Regions from separate parts of the Homo sapiens genome. Here region 1 is linked to region 2. The links are contacts of gene promoters, found by promoter capture Hi-C in blood cells and fetal thymus (Javierre and others, 2016). All regions are on one chromosome and are shown on one strand. The core of a region is centred on a gene start or on the middle of the fragment in contact, and the rest is flanking DNA. Distances in the headings are between cores, read along the strand shown. Region 1 overlaps PSEN1 (presenilin 1). Region 2 holds the start of PAPLN-AS1 (PAPLN antisense RNA 1).

Region 1 (2,700 bases), core at 24-2,523, 78 kb before region 2:
TTCTTTTTTGTATCTTTTGAAATTCTTTTCATTGTTGTTGTTGTTTTGAGACTGGGTGATTTGTTTATTCAGCTCATGGTTCTTGAGGCTGGAAAGCCCAAGAGTATATGGTACCAGCAGCACCTGATTATGCCATGGTGGATAGACAGAACGGCAAGAGAGAGCTTGCTTTTGTAACAAAGTCACTCCCATGATAACTAACCTACTCCTGTGATAACGACATTGCAGGTTCAGTATCCCTGATTTGAAAGTCTGAAATTCAAAGTGCTCCCAAATCTGAAGCTTTCTGAGTATCAATGTGATGCTCAAAGGAAATGCTTATTGGAGTGTTTTAGATTTTGGATTTTTAGATTTGGTATGTTCAACCTGTAAGTATAATGGAAATATTCCAAAATGCAAAATCTGAAACACTTCTGGTCCCAAACATTTCAGATAAAGGATACTGAACCTTTAATCCATTCATGAAGGCAGAGTCCTCATGACCCAGTCACCTCCTAAAGGCCTCACCTCTTGATACTACCACAATGGCAACCAGGTTTCCAGTACATGAATTTTTAGGGGGATCATTCAAACTATAGCACCCTCCTTTATCCCTTACCCTATTCCATTAGTTTTAATCCCCACTTTGTCTCTTCCTCTAATCTTCAGTCTACACTGTGACATGATAGGTATGCTCAAGTCTCTAACAGCTCTAAAATAACGTTTTCTGTTTTTTTTTTTGTCTTCATTTCTGGTGGGGTTGGATAAGAAAAGTTTTTCAAGTTAAATCACTCTCTATTGCAAGCCTCTTCCACCTTTTTTTTTTTTTTTTTTGCTTCGAAGAATGATTGCCTTTACCTTCTCAGTTCTCAGTTATTTTCCAGCACATTATGATTTTATGACCTTGATACAGAAGGGCTGGGCTCCTGGCTAAATTCCACCCTTAAACCTGGAACTGCAACCCTAAGTGAAAACAGCTAACCCCATTTTTTTTCCCACCCAAATGTTGCCTCTTTGGCCTGCCATGCCCCTATCCTGTGCTCATAAAAATATTTCAGCTGGGCTGGGTGCGGTGGCTCACTCCTATAATCCCAGCACTTTGGGAGACCGAGGCAGGTGGATCACCTGGGGTCAGGAGTTCAAGACCAGCCTGGCCAACATGGCAAAACCGTATCTCTACTAAAAATACAAAAATTAGTTGGGCATGGTGGTGGGCACCATAATCCCAGCTACTTGGGAGGATGAGGCAGGAGAATTGCTTGAACCTGGGCGGCGGAGGTTACAGTGAGCCCAGATTGTGCCAGTGCACTCCAGCCTGGGCAACCGAGTGAGACTCTGTCTCAAAAAAAAAAAAACAAAAACAAAAAAGATTTCAGCAGCTGGGAGAACAATATAAGCAGCTGACGTCAGGGATATAAATGGCTGTGTGTTGGGAATACAAGCAGCTGATTGTCGGAAATACAAGCCACTGAGTGTTGGTGATACAAGTGGCTGAGCAGCGAGCAGAGAATCAGGTGAGCGTTGGAGACTATGGATGGGACGTGGCTAACTTCAGATGGTGCAGCTTTGGAGAATAGGCCCAGCCGGAGATGGCCTGGCTTCAGGGAAAGATCACCTTCTTCCCATACCATCCCTTTTTCAACTCCCCATTCTGCTGAGAACCACTTCCATCGTGCAATACAATCTTCTGCATATACTACCCTTCAATCTGTTCATGTGATCTGATTATTCCTGGACACTGGAAGAGAACCTGGGTGCCAAGAGGAGAGGGCAGGGGCTGCCACCCTGACCCTCCACTGAGCTGGCTGGCACCTGGCCATCCCCGAATGGCCGCGTTGAAGGAGCATTGATTGTAACACACTTGGATGCTGCTGCGGGGCCGCATAGAGCCTGCGCCTGCCAGAGAGGAGCAACTGGCTGGTTCCCGCATTCGTTTGCTCTGATTCCCACACTCACTCACTCGCTTGCACACTGCCTCTTGCAAGGGGTTTGAGTGTGTGGTGGCCGAGTAAACGAGCCACGCTCCGAGCCATGAGGGGGTCAAGGGAATTATCCAGTCTCATCTCAATCCGACTTCCCTCTTCACTGTTTTACTTTTGTAAAACCCTTGATGAACTTCCCATTGTCAATTCAGGGTCTTTTTAGCTCTCATCCTGCCAGACTGTTGATAACACCTCTGATTTGTGCTCCACTTTTGGCTTCTGTGTCATATTGATTCCTGAGTTTTCTTCCTTCTCCTCTATTCTCTTAATCTCGTTTTCTGGTTTTCTCCCATCACCTGCTGGTTAAGCTTAGGGGTTATTTACACTTCTCTCCTTGGTCATCTTTTTACTGTATTTTTCCCTCCACAGCTATTTCATCCATTTCTGAGGCCTGAGATTTCATCCATTTCTGAGGCTATAGAGACCAGTGACTTCCTCTGACTCTTCTGAGCTTGAAATTCCTATTGGTAACTGCCATTGGACTTAACTGCCTGGTTATATCTCTAACTAAAGTACTTCTCTCTTCCAGCCTGTTTATCTTATTGTGTTCCATTGTGTTCCTTATCTCTACCAATGCTAGTTCCTTATGCTAGAAATCTCATTCATTGCCACTCAATCAAGTTTGCTAAAAACGAAACATCTGATTGTGTCACTTATTCAACCTTACCAATTTTTTTTTTTTTTTGAGCCTTGCTTTGTCACCCATAGTGGCACGATCTCTGCTCACTGCAGCCTCCAC
Region 2 (2,700 bases), core at 170-2,669:
GAGGGGCCTCTGGGCTCAGGCTGTGAGTGGGCAATGCTGATGCATGGTCCTGTCTTCTGCAGGCTCCCAAGGTGAGGCGGCAGAGTGACACCTGGGGACCCTGGAGCCAGTGGAGCCCCTGCAGCCGGACCTGTGGAGGGGGTGTCAGCTTCCGGGAGCGCCCCTGCTACTCCCAGAGGTAGGAGAGATGAAAATGGGCCAGCTTGTTAAAGCAGGAGCAGGGGATGCTGCCTTCTGGGTGGTGGGCTAGGTGGTCGTGGCCTAGGCTAGCACTGGCCACATCAGCAGAACCCACCAAGGAGCAGATTCATTCTGGAAGCAGCATCAGTTCAGCGCAGGAAATCAAACCATTTCCCAGGGCCTTCCACTCTGAGCTGGAGCACGCGTGCTGCCTGTTGCCCCTGGTCTCCAGCTCCTGATGCTGCACCGGCCTGCAGTATGGCAGGTGCAGTCAATTTTGCTGGAACTGGTAAATAATCTTCAACCGGCAGTTCCCAATTCCTGTGGTTTCTTTACCGAGTACAGATGTTCCCCACTTCAAGCGATTTATTAAATGCTTGCTGTGTGTGCTGCACTCCGGCAGGGTCAGTGGAGAAGGTGGGGCACAGAAGGAGTAGTGAGGTGCCTCTGTCCCGGTTTGTATAGGGGTTGTTCCTGAGAACCCTATGTGAGGAGGAATGAGAGACCAGGAATGATCCTAAGAGCCTTATACTGATGTCCTGCTTAGATCGCAGGATGGCTGTGCCAAGCGGGTGGGTATTATATCTCATGCACCTCGGGTCTTCTCTGGGAATCTGCCTAAGATGCAGTGGAGTGGTCCCGCCTTAAATCCAAACTATAGGGTGGGTAGGGCTCTGAGTCCCGCTTCTCTGGAGTACCAACATGGGTCGCTCACTCCCACCTGGGGGATTTACGGGGTGGGGTCGGGGGACACCCTCTCACCTTGCTGCTCCCACTGGAGAGTCCCGCAGAAGTTGGGGCCTGCAGAGAGCCCCAGAACGGGGGCAGGGACGTTGGGTCTCGGTCAGGTCTTCCCGGTGCTCTGGTCCCGCAGGAGAGATGGAGGCTCCAGCTGCGTGGGCCCCGCCCGGAGCCACCGCTCTTGTCGCACGGAGGTAAAGCTCACGGGGCGCGGGCGAAGGCACCAGCTTCCCCAGCCCCTCCTGGCCGATTTCCCCATTGGGATGCCCGCTCCTGGCCGCGGGCTGCTGGGTTGGCCCAGCCTGGGGTCCTCCCGCCAATCCACAGCAGGGCTGCGTGGGGGCCCCTTCCTCACCCTGCTCCCGGGGACTGGCCTTGCCCTCCACAGCCTAGAGCACCATGGAGGGGCACGCACAGGAGTTCGGGGGTCCGGGGGGCGGACTCCACCTCCGGCGGCTCCGATGGGGCAGGCAAGGGAGACTCCTGGGCTCCCTGGGCTCGGGCGGGGCGGGAGGTGGGCGGACCTCGGACTCCGCCCTCCTGGATCCCGACTTCCCCTCCGCCCCGCAGAGCTGCCCCGACGGCGCCCGGGACTTCCGGGCCGAGCAGTGCGCGGAGTTCGACGGAGCGGAGTTCCAGGGGCGGCGGTATCGGTGGCTGCCCTACTACAGCGGTGAGCGCGGCCGGGACTCGCTCTCTCGGGGCCTCTTGTATACCTACGTTGATGCCACAGTTCCTATTGCCGTATTATAGAGGCGTTGTCATATATATATATATTAGAGACAGTCTCACTGTGTTGCCCAGGCTGGTCTTGAACTCCTGGGCTCAAGGGATCCGCCGGCAGCGACCTCCCAGAGTGCTGGGATTGCAGGCGTGAGCCACTGTACCCGACCAATTTTTTTTTTTTTTTTTTTTTTTTTTTTTGGGTGGGCGCGGGGGCTCGCAATGTACAGGAAATCTTGTAGACCACAGGACCCACCTTTGGGGAGGAGAGGGTCTGCAGAGGTCCCTCGAGAGAGAGCAAGAGGTCTCTCTTTTTCTTTATCTTTTTTTCTTTTCTTTCTCTCTCGTTCTCTCTCGCTTGCTCTTTTTTCTCTCTTCCTTTCCTTTCCTTTTTTTCTTTTCCTTTTTCTTTCTTTCTTTTTTTTTTTTTTTTGAGACAGGATCTTGCCCAGGCTTGAGTGCAGCAGTGTCATGTCAGCTGGGCAGCATGTACCTCCCAAGCTCAATCAATCCTTCCACCTCAGCCTCCCAAATAATTTTTAAAGTAAATATGGAATGCTTCATGAATTTGCATGCCATACCAGCTAAGGGGGCAGGGGCTGTGCTAATCTCTGTATCGTTCCAATTTTAGTATATGTGCTGCCAGAGCCAGCATTTGTCAAATACCCCATCGATCAACCCATAATGAATCAATCACCAGTACCCCTGCTCCCCCCAGCACATGCCCGTGGCAACACCATGGCAGCCATTTTGAGGTCTTTCCATCCTTTCTCCCCTTATGTATGTATATTTTCAAACGAAGCTATGGTGTGTCTATACCATTTTGAGCCCTGTTTTTGCTCAGTCTGCTATGGGAAGCGTTCCTCCCGTCGCACAGAGACGGAGATGGGGAACCCCGGGAGCGGTAGCAATGGTGCCCCACGGTCATCCTGCAGGAGGGGCTGGAAGGGGCTTGGTACACCAAGACTTCATTTATCAAGGATCTGGGGGCCAGAGGAGATGGTCTGTGCACCTCTGAGGAGGGTATAAGTCATTAATTTTTAGAGAAATACAGTT

What was found. Contacts are between HindIII fragments. The CHiCAGO score rates a contact against its expected background, and 5 or more counts as called.
Region 1: a fragment that was not itself captured here is called in contact with the fragment with the promoter of PAPLN-AS1 in region 2 in 1 of 17 cell types (endothelial precursors); the score reaches 5.2 in endothelial precursors.

Annotation. Positions count from the first base shown.
Region 1 is chr14:73,167,034-73,169,733 of GRCh38, forward strand. All of the region lies in intron 3 of PSEN1 (presenilin 1), which reads left to right. Among named protein-coding and RNA genes, the nearest start is that of PSEN1, 32 kb to the left of the region's middle. RefSeq lists enhancers at 1,347-2,283, 2,284-2,700. The HindIII fragment of the contact is 1,987 bases long and covers 281-2,267 here.
Region 2 is chr14:73,244,582-73,247,281 of GRCh38, forward strand. PAPLN-AS1 (PAPLN antisense RNA 1) reads right to left here and starts at 1,420. Exons shown (of 2, transcript NR_135248.1): 1 at 943-1,420; 2 at 1-663. PAPLN (papilin, proteoglycan like sulfated glycoprotein) reads left to right here. Exons shown (of 27, transcript NM_001365906.3): 3 at 63-178; 4 at 1,055-1,115; 5 at 1,492-1,594. It also overlaps the pseudogene RNU6-419P. RefSeq lists a silencer at 1,255-1,524 and enhancers at 2,472-2,541, 2,680-2,700. The HindIII fragment of the contact is 12,638 bases long and covers 1-2,700 here.